Regions from separate parts of the Homo sapiens genome. Here all the other regions are linked to region 1. The links are contacts of gene promoters, found by promoter capture Hi-C in human tissues and cell types (Jung and others, 2019). All regions are on one chromosome and are shown on one strand. The core of a region is centred on a gene start or on the middle of the fragment in contact, and the rest is flanking DNA. Distances in the headings are between cores, read along the strand shown.

Region 1 (2,700 bases), core at 196-2,695:
AAAAACAGAAAAAAAAAAGCAATCATTTGTGCTAGTGTGTGCTAAGGATGCTGTTCCCAAGCACCCAAAATCCCAGGGAGACCTACGGCAGCCCGCAACACGGGTCTGCACAGCCGAGAGCCCACAGTGACCCTTGGCAAGTGGAAAGCTGTGCTTGAAGAGAAACCGGAGCTGAGTCCTTAAAGAGAGGGGAGGGAGTGCCTTGGGGCTGGCAGGGTAGGTGGAAGGTGGACGATGGAGGCTGGGTCCAGCTGTCTTGCAGGCAGCTCGGGACGGTGCCCAGCGCTGTGCCCATCTTCTCTAGGGACAAATGTGCCCGTTGTTTCTTTTCACAGCTTATGGACTCAGATGCCAACGTAAGATTCCCTCTTTCATTTACATTCGCTTCTCTTTTAGTATAAAATTAACCTATTTCTGTTGCACAAAATTTAGAAAAGAAAGCATCCGAAAAAGCTAGCCCTGCTTTCATTTCGGGGTCTCTTTCGTGACACGTTTATCTCGTTACAAAAATGGACTATTCTTAACCCGCCCTGTCCCTGACATGCCAGGCGATTCCTCCTCCTACAGAAGCTAACTTTCACATGGGAAAAGGCACCACCACCGGCCCGGCTGTGCCCCGGGGGGTCAGTCTGGAGTCGCCGCAAACAAACGCGCCAAACACGGTGGTCCCGTACCCAGGCGCTGCGGAAGCCCGGCAGGACCCCGGCAGGACCCCGGCAGGCGTTCGGCGCACCTGTCGGCCGCTCCTCGGACCAGGGCAGACTTCCTTCCAGTCCTGGCCTGGATGGGGTGAGGGAGAGGGGATGCCCCGCGCTGCCTCGCGAAGCCGGCAGCACCGCCGGGGCTCCGGCCCAGGGCACCAGGAGGCAAATGAGCCGCGGGACGGGGGCGGGGGCAGCGACTCCGGGAGAGCCGGGACCTGCTCCCGCGGGCCCAGAGCCAGGGAAAGCCCAGCGCCGCGCGGACCCCACGGACGGGCCGCCAGGCTGTGGCCGAGCCCCGAACGCCGGCGTCGAATCCCGCAGTCACCAGCCGCGCCCACCCCGGCGGGGCTCGCAGAGGCGGACGCGCGGGCCCCGGGGAAGACGGCAGCCACGGCGCCGCGCAGGAGACCCCGGCCCGAGGCCCCGCGGGCGAGGAGGGACGCAGGGCGGAGAGACCGAGGGGCCCGGCTGCGCGCTGCGCCTCAGTTTCCCCATCCGAACGCGGGGGGCCGAGGGCGCGGGGCTCTTCCGGCCCCGCCGCCCGCCCCGGCCCCGTCGCCTGTCCCGGCCCCAGCCCTGACCCCGGGCCCGGGCCCTCACCAGGATGGCCTTGTCCTGCTCCGTGACGCGGCTCTGCTTCTTGCGGCCGAACAGGTTACCCATGGCGGCGCCCGCCCCTGGCCCGGGACCCACCAAGTCCAATCGCCACCGCCGCCCCGCGGCCACCGTAGCTCGGGTCCTCCCGCTACGGCGGCCGCGCCGGGCCAGGCGCCGCGGAACGCGAAGGCCGAGCGCCGCCTCCGGCCGCGCGCCGTTGCCGCGGGTTCGAAACCACAGCCCGCCGGTCTCGGCGACCGCCGCGAACACCGCGGCCTCCTTGGACCGGTACGGAGAAGTGGCACGGATACCTGGATGTTAGGGCCCGCGATGTTCGGGCCCGGGATGTTCTAAATGACGTGTTTCCGTGCACCCTTCCTGTGCAGGTGAAGGCAAAAATTTCTTATCTCCTAATTAGGTGGGATCCTTTTAGATTAACATAATTCAGTCTCCCCAGGCTTTCAGGAATCTTGTGCAGGAATCACTGTCCCACTGGCTCTGAACACAAAATGCCGCATTAATGATGTGATATCCAACGTTTTGCACTTTTTTTTTTTTTTTTTTTTTTAGATGGAGTCCTGCTCTGTCGCCCAGGGTGGAGTGCAGGGGCGCTATCTCGGCTCACTACAAACTCTGCCTCCCGGGTTCAAGTGATTTTCCTGCTTCAGCCTCCTGAGTAGCTGGGACTACAGGTGCCTGCTGCCACACCCGGCTAATGTTTGTTAGTAGAGACGGGGTTTCACCATATTGGCCAGGCTGGCCTTGAGCTCCTGACCTTCTGATCCACCCACCTCGGGCTCCCAAAGTGCTGGGATGACAGGCGTGAGCCGCCGCACCCGGCCCGCTTTGCACTTTAAAATGTTCCCTGAAATGCGACCAGCAGCGCCCTCCACCCAGCCTTTCAGCCCTGGGATCTTCCCTCTTCCACTGCGCTGCTCCCTGTCTGTAGATCAGTGCCAGGAGGAGACCAGCATGGCTGGGCTCAGCTTCTCCTTCCAAGGAATCGTGGCTGCGTCCCCCACAGAAGCATTCTTCCCTGGGGGGCTAAGAAACACATGAATGGGGATAAAGGGTAAAAGGGAGAAGCCACCCCGGTTCCCGCCTGAGTATCCTGACTGTGGTTCCTGAGCATTCACTAAGTGTCAAAGAAAAGCACTCAGCTGAGGATGGCTTGAGGCCAGGAGTTCAAGACCAGCCTGGCAACATAGCAAGACCCCCGTCTCTACAAAAAATATAACAAATAACATCAAAAGGAGAATAATTATCACCTGTTCCAAACCTCTGGACTCCAGAACCTTCACTGAGGTGAGGGGGCCCCTGAATTTTTGTGGGGTTCATCTCCCACCCTCTGATTTGTCTCACCAAGACATCTGAAGTACTTTTTTCCTTGGTGTCCATG
Region 2 (2,700 bases), core at 129-2,628, 620 kb after region 1:
CCGCTGGCTGCTGAGCTTCCGCACCAGGTACACCCGGTGCCAGTCGTTCTCCACCCGGATACAGAACTGCTTGACTTGCTGCAGGTAGCACTGCTTCTCCTTGGCCATCTCTGAGAGGCCAACGAGAAAGCGGGTGAGTGGCTGGTGACTTAGGGCATTTATTGTAGGACACAAGGCCAACCAGAGGGCATCGGACCTACCCACAGGCATTCACAGAAACACATCCAGGGGAGAGGGGATGTAGAAAAGCCCAGTAGTAGTCTATTCGAAGAACTAGTTTCCCATACTTCCTGAATTTCTAAATAACGGAGTCTTTAAACCCAAAGGAAAGCAAGGCAGAGAAGACTTGCCTGGGCCTCCCTCAGGCTCCGAGAGGAAATCTGCAGCTCTGTCGAGGCAGAGGCGGATCCGGGCCACCTCTTGCAGGTATTCAACCGAGGCCTCGTTGGCAGGCTCTCGGCCCCGGCTTGCTGGAGAATATGCCTTAAGGAAACGACCTTCCTCTTCTAGGTGGTTCAGTTCATCATTTCTGGAGTAAGCACTGGTCTTCTCAAGTATTGAATCCTGAGGAACAAGGAACAAGAAAGAAAAGGATATTATTTTTTTAAACATGGATGCCCCAAGCTTCTACAGTCGCCAATGTGACTGTGGAGAAGGAAGGATAGAAGAATGTTACTGTAGGTTTCAGTGTAAATTTCTTGACTTATGGAAACCTAACATTCCTTTTTATTTTAAGGACAAGAAGGAGGGGAAAAGTGAACCTATGAGGAAAAAAAATTATCTAATTTATTTACATTATAAAAATTTTGGATATAAAAATATGAAGATAAAAAGTATCCATAATGTCCCCACTCAATGATAACCACTGTTAACTTTGGCAGTATATTCTCCTAGGCTGTTCTGTTTTGTATGTATATGCAAGTAAATGCCAAAATATACGTTGCTGAAGGCAGAAGCCGCGTCTTTGAAACCTTTCTTCTTTTCTGCACGGAACAGAGCATTCGTTAATTATACTGACTAAAATTATATTCTGTAAATTTTAAACCATGTGGTTCAGATAGTTTCCAAAAGAAATTCAGGGAAGAGAGAGTTCACTTACCTCCAGGCAGTTGATGAAGAGCATGTACAGTTCAGTTTTATCTTCAGTTATGAATGCTTTCTTTTTTAACAGGGTCAAATATTCCTGAATATAATCTTTTACATCATGAAAGCTGCAGAAAGAGAAATATTATTCCTGGTTCTCTCAGATCTGGAGACATACCTTACTAAAAAAAAGAGCATCTATCTATCGGTCGTCTGTCCTGTGTGTGTGTGTGTATAAACATATACATACATATACGTGGTTTCTAAGATTTTATGGAAAACCTTTTAGCATAATACTGGAGGAATATAAAACTCACATTTTAGACCAGCTGTCCTCAAACTTTGGTTTCAGGACCCCTTTATAGTCTTAAAAATTGAGAACCCCGAAGAGCTTTTATGTGGGTTATATTATCAATATTTATGATATTAGGAATTATGAGACATTAAAAACAAAAGGTTTCAAAAATATACATTCATTTAAAATAACAATAAAGCTATTACATGTTAAATAACATTTAAAATATTTTCCAAAACATGAATCCGTGAGAAGAGTGGTTTGGTCTTCCATTCCTGTGCTGGCCCTGGGGCCTGGCTCCTGGAAGTCAGCGGCCTGCCTGCCCTGCTCCCCATCGCTGCAGCATATGGGAGAACATGAAGAAAATCTGTCCTCATATACTCGGAATAGCGAGGAACATTTTAATAGTTTTTGCAGCTGATTGTGGCTATTATTCCTTAATGCTGTGCCCACAGTGATAAATGGTCATGTCTAGAGGTTAGTTGCAATGTGGAGCCTGAAACTGTATCAGTGCATTTTTCAGTCAATTATGTTAAAATCAAAAAGGTCTGCCCATACTTTAAATAGATTTTTTTCTTTTTTGACCCACATGATTTCATGACATCAGGCATTGGTCATTTGGAAAATATTGGTTCACTGGGCTGTGCAGGTCTTGTAAAGGTTGACACATTTGTATTCTACGTTTTAAAAAAAAAAATCCATATTCATTAATATCACCACAAATTGCCCCAAAATGTCTTTAAGTATTCAAAAGCTCACAAGCTCATAGTGGAGAATATAAGCTTTTCAAAATTTTAATTTCAGCTTAAAAGCTTGAATGTTATCATCACCAACCAACATTGTCAGTTGTTTGGCTGAGGCTGGCTCACTTTGCTGATTTCCAGGAGAGGCCTGCCCAGCCCTGGACACCTGTATCATGTGCATCCTTCCTCCCAGCACGGGTGGCGGTCCATGAACACAGCAGCCGGCTGATAACCCAGGGCTTGTCATGAGTGATTTTCTGTGAGGCAACTGTCTACTCCGGTGTGTAGTGGGAGTGTTTTGTGTGTGCTTCCCATTTCCACAAAACGTTGAAAAGTCAAATCCTCAAGAGTCAAGATTTAGTAAAACTAAAATGAAACTGGCATGAAGAAAACCACGTGTGCATGGCGGTGAAGAAAACAATACCTCCAGCTACTGTGTCTTCACGTGAGGGGCCAGCAGTTTAACTCATCACCGCTTTTTGTAACATCATCATAAGTATCAACATGTTTTTTAAAAAAGGGCAAATTTATCTTAGTAATCTAATTTTTAAAATAGTTTTAACCTCAGAGACCTACCTC
Region 3 (2,700 bases), core at 1-2,500, 890 kb after region 1:
AAATCCCAGGTTGTCACTTGTACTTTCGATCAACTAGTTATAAATTCAGAGGTTCCCAGGACTCCCTCTTCAGGGTCACAGAACTCAGGAAAGTGCGTTTCTTACAGTTGCTGGTTTATTACAAAGGATAAAACTCAGACAGCCGTATGGAAGAGATGCGTAGGGCCTGGTGTGAGGTGGGGGCAGTGATGCTGTGCTCTCTGCTCGCACCACCCTCCAGTGCCTTGGTGTGTTCCACAACCCGGCGGGAAGCCCTCTGATCCCTGTGGTTTCTTACGGGGTTCCATTGTGCAGGCATGGTTGACTAAGCCACTGGTGATTCACTCAATCTCCAGCCCCTCACCCCTTTTCCATCCCAACCCGTCATCAGGCCTTGGTCTTTCTGGCCATCTGCTTCCATCCTGAAGCCACCTGGTGTCCCCGGTCATCAGTCACCTCATGAGCAAAAGGCTCTCTCATCACTCGGTTTCCAAGGGTTTCGGGTGCTATGTGCCAGCAACCAGGGACAAAGACCAGAGACAGTCACCCCTGGCCTGGCCTAAGGGGGTCTTTGTGATTGAGACATTCAGATTTCAGAGCTGGCCCAGGGGCCCCCTCTCAGGCCACGGTGCTCCTCACCCCAGGGATTCAGACCCAGCCATGTGCGTCCTGCAGGAGCAGGAGAGGTGGCTCGGGTCCCGGCCAGGACTGAGCACTGCGTCGATCAAAAGGGGAAAGGAAACCCTAGAAACGGGAAGATGCAGCCTCCAGCCCCAAGCCCAGCACAGGAGGGCGGCTCCCCGTTCATCTCTAAGCTGAACTCAGATAAAGACCGGGAGGACTAGAGGTCTGGGGCTCAAGCTCCGCTCAGGGGAAGAGGCTGGGGGCACGGCTAGGCACGTTCAAACCCGCTTCTGGGATGTTACCGCCGGCAGCGCGGGGCAGACGTCAGGTGTCTCACCCGCTCCGTGCCTCAGTTTCCCCGTCAGCTGCGGCACGCGCAGAGCCTCCCTCGCTGAACAACGGGCGGACGAGGAGAACCTAGAGGTGGCCGGGGTCCTTCGCGTCACCGAGGTCACTGTCCTACCTGCTGCCTCATCCCCGACCTCCACCCGCGGCCCCGGCGACAACCTCAGCTTTCCCAACTGAGAGGCCGCGCGGGCAGCCGACCGCCCCACCGACCCGGCCCGCGCTCAGGGAAGCCCCGCAGCCCCGGCCCGGCTCACCTCCGCGCACGCGCGCCCTGGCCGCCCGCGGAGACTCCGGGGTCGTGCCCGGGGGCGCGCAGAGGCGGGTCACGTGACCGGCGGGAGCTCGTCGCGGGGCGGGGCCGCGGTGGGTCACGTGACGCGGCCTCCCGCGCAGGCGCCCGAGGCAAGGGTGCGCGTCCGCGCTACGCCCCCCAGTGGCGGCTCCGGCAGAGCGGGCCTGGGCGCGTCCTCGCTCTCGGAGGGGGCCTGGGGAGCGCGTCTGGCTGCGCGTCCGGCGTCCCGCGGGGAGAGGCCCACGCGTGCTGCCCGCTGCCGGTTCCTCTGGGGTCAGAGACGGGGCGAGGCCCCCGCTGGCGCAGTCCCGGCCCGGTCCCCGTGGGGTCGGAGATGGGGCGTGGCCCCCGCTGCCCCGGCCTGGGTCCCCGCAGCTCGTAGGGCTTTGTAAGGGGCTGGCCCAGCCGCGCCTTGCGCCCAGGGATTCCTCCTGCCAACGCGTCCCGAGGGCATCATCGGAAAGGCGGCCAAAGGCGCTCAGCGCCAAGTTAGAAACAGCCAACATTTGGAAAGTCCTTAAGTGTGCTCCATAACTCACAGTTATTCCAGAAAGGAATAATCAAAACATTGTGATAACCCATAAAACTGACAATTGAGAAAACATTAAACTGACACAGGGGGAATTTTTTCATAAAATGAGAAAATGCTTACATTAAGAGGAGCACATTTTTACATGTGAGATACAAAAAACACACAGTATAACCTTAACTTGCCTAATAAAATGTATGTGCAGAAAAATACAAAAGGAGCCACACCAAAACACAGAGGTGTTGTTCCTGGGTAGGGGCATAGGGGCATTAAAAGCCCCCTTTCCAGCTTGCAGCGAGCCGAGACCGCGCCACTGCACTCCAGCCTGGGCGACAGAGCGAGACTCCGTCTCAAAAAAAAAAAAACAAAAGCCTCCCTTCCACCTCTGTTGTGGTTTCTGTATTTCTACAATGTTTTAAAATAAGTAAGGCTGACTCAGAAAGGCTTACTAGATATTCAGAAAAAAGATTTTATTCTTCTGCTGAAATGTTTGAAAGTGAAATTATTTTGTAGAGCATTTTCCCTTTAAACTGCAAAGAAGCCCCAAGGTCATTGGTACTTGGAAGTCCAGGGAGAAAGAGCGCTGGGTTAATGATGGAGAAAAGATAGGTGGGCAGACTGGGGCGTAGTCCCTTGGTGTGGACGCCCCAGCGTGCTCTTATTTCAGTGCTCACCCTGTTACGTGTGTCTGGGGCCACTGACTTTCTCCTGCAAGCTGTGGATCTGAATTTAACTCAAATGGGGACATGGGGGCAGGAAAAGGGACCTGAGAGTTCTAAGGGGTGGGGATGGGAAAACTGGTAAAGAAGGTGGTTTGTGGGTTTTCAGATGCACCTAGTAGAGGGAAGTGCTGGGGGGACCAGCCTCCCGGGCCAGGCTGGCTGGAGCTGCCTTAACTTTCCCACCTCTGCTCAGCCCACCAGCTTGT
Region 4 (2,700 bases), core at 85-2,584, 510 kb before region 1:
AGTAGCTGGGATTACAGGCATGCGCCACCGCGCCCAGCTAATTTTGTATTTTCGGTAGAGATGGGGTTTCTCCATGTTGGTCAGTCTGGTCTCAAACTCCTGACCTCAGGTGATCCGTCCACCTCGGCCTCCCAAAGTGCTGGGATTACAGGCATGAGCCACCGCGCCCGGCTGCAACAGCAATATATTGACTCAGAGGAGGACAGGTGCTGCTGAAAGGGGCTGAGAGAATCTGATCCTGGCTCAGCACAGCTGGGGATTGGCCTCCTCCATGGCCTTTTGTTTGTTTGCTTTTGTGTTTTTTTTGGAGACAGCATCTCACTATGTTGCCCAGGCTGAACTCCTGGACTCAATGGTCCTCCTGCTTAGGCCTCCCAAAGTGCTGGGATTACAGGCATGAGCCACTGCACCCAGCCTAGGACTCTTTTTGAAAAAACAACCACAAGCTGGGCGCGGTGGCTCATTCCTGTAATCCCACCACTTTGGGAAGCCGAGACGGGCGGATCACGAGGTCAGGAGTTCAAGACCAGCCTGGCCAACATGGTGAAACCCATCTCTACTAAAAATACAAAAATTAGCCAGGCATGGTGGCGTGCGCCTGTAATCCCAGCTATTCCAGAGGCTGAGGCAGGAGAATTGCTTGAACCCACATGGCAGAGGTTGCAGTGAGCCGAGATTGAGCCACTGCACTCCAGCCTGGGTGACAGAGCAAGACTCTATCTCAAAAAAAAAAAAAAAAAAAAAAAAATCACAGTATCATGCCCCCACCCACCAATTATTGATCGATACTTAGTATCATCTAATGTCCAAATTTCCTTGGTTGTCTTAAATTTTTTGTTGTTGTTTTGTTTGTCTGTTTTTTTGGGGGGACAGGGTCTTGCTTTGTTGCCCAGGCTAGAGTGCAGTGGCACAATCACAGCTCACTGCAGCCTCGACTTCCTAGGCTCAAGCAATCCTCCCACCTCAGCCGCTTGAGTAGCTGGGACTACAGGCGTGCACCACCATGCCCAGATAATTTTTAAACTTTCTGTAGAGATGGGGTCTCCCTATGTTGCTTAGGCTGGTCTCAAGCTCCTGGTCTCAAGAGATCCTCTCACCTCAGCCTCCTAAAATGTGGCGATTACAGGTGTGAGCCACCATGCCCAGCCTTAAATTTCTTTCTTTTTTTTTTTTGAGACGGAGTCTCACTCTGTCACCCGGGCTGGAGTGCAGTGGTGTGATCTCGGCTCGCTGCAAGCTCCGCCTCCTGGGTTCATGCCATTCTCCTGCCTCAGCCTCCCGAGTAGCTGGGACTACAGGCGCCCACCACCACGCCCGGCTGGTGTATTTTTAGTAGAGACGGGGTATTTTTTTTGTATTTTTTTGTATTTTTTTTGTATTTTTAGTAGAGACGGGGTTTCACCGTGTTGGCCAGGATGGTCTCGATCTCCTGACCTCGTGATCCACCCGCCTCGGCCCCCCAAAGTGCTGGGATTACAGGCGTGAGCCACCGCGACCCACCTAAATTTCTTTTAACGGTTGGTTTCCAATCATTGCACTTGGCCACTATGTCTCTTAAATCTCTTTTAACCGCGGGATTTACCCTCTTTCATTTTTCTCCTTTCAGGTTATTTGTGGAAGAAGGCAGGTCTTTTGTTCCAAAGGGTTCCACCTGTCTGGATTTTGCTGATTTCGTCCTTGTGGTTGATGTGGCACGTTCCTCAACCCTTATATTTCCTATAGTCAGTTAGCTCTAGGTGTAAATGTCCAAACTGGTCTGTTTAATCTCATTCAGGTTGATTTTTTTAGCAAGAAGATGACCACAGGGTGGGTGCAACTTCATGGAGAGGGAAAGAGTCCCACAGAGCCTGATGTTGTGATATTAGCAGCCATTGGAAATCCCTGCCAGGACCTGCTATTTCATTAGTGGTTACAAATTATTCTCCCCCTCCACTCCCCTCCCCTCCCTCTTTTCTCCTCTCCTCCTCTCCCTCCCTCCCTCCTTCTCTCCTTCCCTCCTTCCCTCCCTCCCTTTCTTTTTTGATGGAGTCTCACTCTCTCGCCGCTGGAGTGCGGCCTCCGCCTCCAGTTTCCAGCAATTCTCCTGCCTCAGCCTCCTGAGTAGCTGGGACTATAGGCGCCCACCACCACGCCTGGCTAATTTTTTTTTTGTATTTTTAGTAGAGATGGGATTTCACCGTGTTAGCCAGGATGGTCTTGATCTCCTGACCTCGTGATCTGCCTGTCTCGGCCTCCCAGAGTGCTGGGATTACAGGCGTGAGCCACTGCGCCTGGCCTATTTCTTTCTTTTTTTTAATGGAGTTTTGCTCTTGTTGCCCAGACTGGAGTCCGGTGGTGTGATCTCGGCTCACTGTAACCTCCACCTTCTGGGTTCAAGCGATTCTCCTGCCTCAGCTTCCCAAGTAGCTGGGATTATAGGTGCCCACCACCATGCCCCACTAATTTTTGTATTTTCTGTAGAGCCAGGGTTTCACCATGTTGGTTGGCCAGGCTGGTCTTGAACTTCTGACCTCAGGTGATCTGCCCACCTTGGCCTTCCAAAGTGCTGGGATTACAGGCATGAGGCACTGCACCTGGCCTTTTCTTTTCTTTTCTTCTTTTCTTTCCCTTTCTCCCTCCCTTTCTTCTCCCTTCCTTCCTTCCTTCCCTTCTTTCTTTCCCTCCCTCCCTCCCTTCTTTCTTTTTCTTTTTTCTTTCTTT
Region 5 (2,700 bases), core at 181-2,680, 730 kb after region 1:
CAGAGACTAAAATTATCTCTCCTTCAGAGTAGAAGGAGAGTTTAAAACTCCCCTACCCCTGCCACAGCCAAGCCCTGGCTCCCACCGTACCTCCTCCCCTCCACACTCTACCTGAAACAACCACCAGTGGACACTCCCTCCCTCAAACACCTTCAATGACTCCCCACCGCCCAGGCCTCTTTCTTTCCACCCGAAGTGTTTCCTTCTCCAATGCTACACTGGGGAACCACAGACCAGAAAACTCGAAAAATCCTCCAAAAAGCATTTTTTGTTTGTTTGACAGTTTCACCCAGGCTGGAGTACAGTGGGCAATCTCAGCTCACTGCAACCTCCGCCTCCCGGGCTCTAGCGATTCTCCCGCCTCAGTCTCCCAAGTAGGTGGAGTTACAGGCATGCGCCACCACACCCGGCTAATTTTTTGTGTTTTTAGTAGAAACGGGGTTTCATGTTGGCCAGGCTGGTCTCGAACTCCCGACCTCAGGTGACCCACCCGCCTTGGCCTCCCAAAGTTTTGGGATTACAGGCATTAGCCACTGCGCCCGGCCCCCTAAAGCATCTTATTGTTCCATCTGCTCTAGGGGCCGGAAGACACAAGAGAGAGCCCCAGGCACCCAACACTGTTGCATTCAATCCGCTTCCTGTCTTTTCTCTGACATTTTTTCCCAAGCACAGACACTGCCACCCAAATCAAAGCCCATCCCCCAACCACAACCAAAGTCAACAAGGTGGGGGCAGGGAAGGGCCACCACCATGTTTGCACAGCTCCTTCCCCTCCCGCCCTGGACTCCCCCAGGGCCCGGCCCGCCGGCTTGCAGGCAGCCATCCGGGAGGGGTGCCCACCCTGGCCTTGAGCCCCGCGCTCGGGCGACTTCGCCAAGTCGGAAGGACGCTGCGCGGTGCGGTTCAGACGGGGCGATGCCTCCCTCGTAAAAGTTAGGAGTCTGTTTTTGCAACTTCACTTTTCCGTTGTTGCCATTCGTACAGGCGCAGGATTCCCGGGCGGACCTGCAGGCCCGGGTCCGGCTGTCCCCTTCCACTACACCCCCCGTGCCCCGGCCACTTCCCGGGGGCAGCACTGCCGGGGCGCAAAGCCTCCTCCGCGCTCTGCGCTCCGGGGATGTCGCCGGGGTCCCAGGCGTGCCCGCTGCCCCCACCCCGACCCCTCCCGCAGCCGGGGAACAGGGTCAGTGGGCGCCGCGGGCGGGGCTGGACCGGGCACCCCGGCGGCGAAACCGAAACTTGGAGCCGGCAGGAAGAGGCGGCCGGGAGGGGCATCCGGACGCAGGCGCCGCTCCCCGGGACCCGGCCCGCCGGCCCGCGGGGCCCACTGTATCCTAGCCCGCTCCCCGCCCCGGGAGACTCTCCAGGCCCGCTCGCACCTGCGGCCCCCGAGCTCGCCGCCTGCCGCGCGCTGTCGCCCCTCGGGTCACGGGGCCCTGGGCCCCGCCCTGCCCGCCGCCGCCGCCGCCGGCCCCGCCCTGCCCGCCGCCGCCGCCGCCGGCCCCGCCCTGCCCGCCGCCGCCGCCGCCGGCCCCGCCCTGCCCGCCGCCGCCGCCGCCGGCCCCGCCCTGCCCGCCGCCGCCGCCGCCGGCCCCGCCCTGCCCGCCGCCGCCGCCGCCGGCCCCGCCCTGCCCGCCGCCGCCGCCGCCGGCCCCGCCCTGCCCGCCGCCGCCGCCGCCGGCCCCGCCCTGCCCGCCGCCGCCGCCGCCGGCCCCGCCCTGCCCGCCGCCGCCGCCGCCGGCCCCGCCCTGCCCGCCGCCGCCGCCGGCCCCGCGCAGGCGTGTGCGGAATTCCCCGCCGGTGGCGCCTCCCAGTGACTCCGGGCCCCCAGCCCCCGGGAGGCGCCTCGGGCCGCTGCGCGCCGGGTACAGACGCGGGAGGGGCCTCGGTTCCCGCCAGGCGTGGGGCGCATGCGGGTCTCCCGGAAGCCCAGACCCCGGGCAGGCCCGAGCAGCCGAGTGGGGCGGGACAGGCGCGCCCCCCGCCCCGGCGCCCAGCACCTCGGACAGTGTCTGCGGCCGCGCAGAGCCGGCGGCCAGCCTGGGAGCGGCCCAGAGGGCGCCCGGCGGGTGCAGTGGACGTCGTCAGCGCGCCGCGTGGGGGCCTTTGCAGATTAAGGGACCTCCGCGGCCCCGCGCGGAGCGCTCTGTCACTGATGATGGAGGGGCCACGGCGGTCCGCACCATCCCCCGTGCCTCAGTTTTCCCATCTGTGAGGCTCATGGTGTGACCAGGGACCTCCGTTTTAAAATCACCCACTTTCTTTTTCTTCCTTCTCCTCTCACCCCTTCATCCCGTCCCTCTCTGGACACTGCGCCCCTCTGCGCATTCCAGAGGGGACCCTCATCCTGAAACAATTCCCGGCGCGGAACCCCAGCTGAATGCTCCTGCTTGGGGCGGGGGGTCGCCAACAATTAGTCCAACATCCTCGACAGCCACCCCTCCTAACCGACAACTGCCCACGACAGCCATGGGAACAAGACACAGACCCTGCCCTTACCCCACTCCCCACGGTGCCCACGGCAAGTTTCCCTAGAAGAACTCGATGGCAGCCTGGGCAACATAGAGAGACCCCATCTCTACAAAAAAAATCATTTAAAAAAATTAGCTGGGCGTGGTGGTGCACCTGAAGAGGCTGAGGCAAGAGGATCGTTTGAGCCCAGGGAGCTCCAGGCTGCAGTGAGTCGTGATCATACCACTG

Evidence for each region. The method cuts DNA at HindIII sites, captures the fragments that hold promoters and counts their contacts. A contact is called where the count stands out against the background at its distance.
Region 2: a contact is called between a fragment that was not itself captured here and the fragment with the promoter of CHMP6 in region 1, in 1 of the 25 tissues and cell types used here (lymphoblastoid cells).
Region 3: a contact is called between the fragment with the promoter of GAA here and the fragment with the promoter of CHMP6 in region 1, in 1 of the 25 tissues and cell types used here (lymphoblastoid cells).
Region 4: a fragment that was not itself captured here is called in contact with the fragment with the promoter of CHMP6 in region 1 in 1 of the 25 tissues and cell types used here (dorsolateral prefrontal cortex).
Region 5: a contact is called between the fragment with the promoter of RNF213 here and the fragment with the promoter of CHMP6 in region 1, in 1 of the 25 tissues and cell types used here (heart left ventricle).

Annotation. Positions count from the first base shown.
Region 1 is chr17:80,990,586-80,993,285 of GRCh38, reverse strand. It overlaps CHMP6 (charged multivesicular body protein 6), which reads right to left and starts at 1,445. Exons shown (of 8, transcript NM_024591.5): 1 at 1,305-1,445. The coding sequence starts at 1,367. RefSeq lists silencers at 743-932, 943-1,092, 1,223-1,552. The HindIII fragment of the contact is 10,930 bases long and covers 1-2,060 here.
Region 2 is chr17:80,370,385-80,373,084 of GRCh38, reverse strand. RNF213 (ring finger protein 213) reads right to left here. Exons shown (of 68, transcript NM_001256071.3): 47 at 1,100-1,211; 48 at 351-564; 49 at 1-110. The region is part of intron 1 of RNF213-AS1 (RNF213 antisense RNA 1); the gene reads left to right. Among named protein-coding and RNA genes, the nearest start is that of ENDOV, 43 kb to the left of the region's middle. RefSeq lists an enhancer at 118-1,317. The HindIII fragment of the contact is 5,086 bases long and covers 1-2,700 here.
Region 3 is chr17:80,100,131-80,102,830 of GRCh38, reverse strand. GAA (alpha glucosidase) reads right to left here and starts at 1,250. Exons shown (of 20, transcript NM_000152.5): 1 at 941-1,250. It overlaps CCDC40 (coiled-coil domain 40 molecular ruler complex subunit), which reads right to left. Exons shown (of 20, transcript NM_017950.4): 20 at 2,218-2,700. RefSeq lists an enhancer at 644-753 and a silencer at 1,084-1,703. The HindIII fragment of the contact is 18,678 bases long and covers 1-2,700 here.
Region 4 is chr17:81,503,843-81,506,542 of GRCh38, reverse strand. No RefSeq gene overlaps it. Among named protein-coding and RNA genes, the nearest start is that of ACTG1, 7.6 kb to the left of the region's middle. The HindIII fragment of the contact is 9,311 bases long and covers 1-2,700 here.
Region 5 is chr17:80,259,582-80,262,281 of GRCh38, reverse strand. RNF213 (ring finger protein 213) reads right to left here and starts at 1,430. Exons shown (of 68, transcript NM_001256071.3): 1 at 1,380-1,430. RefSeq lists silencers at 553-692, 1,073-1,422, 1,702-2,051. The HindIII fragment of the contact is 8,363 bases long and covers 1-2,700 here.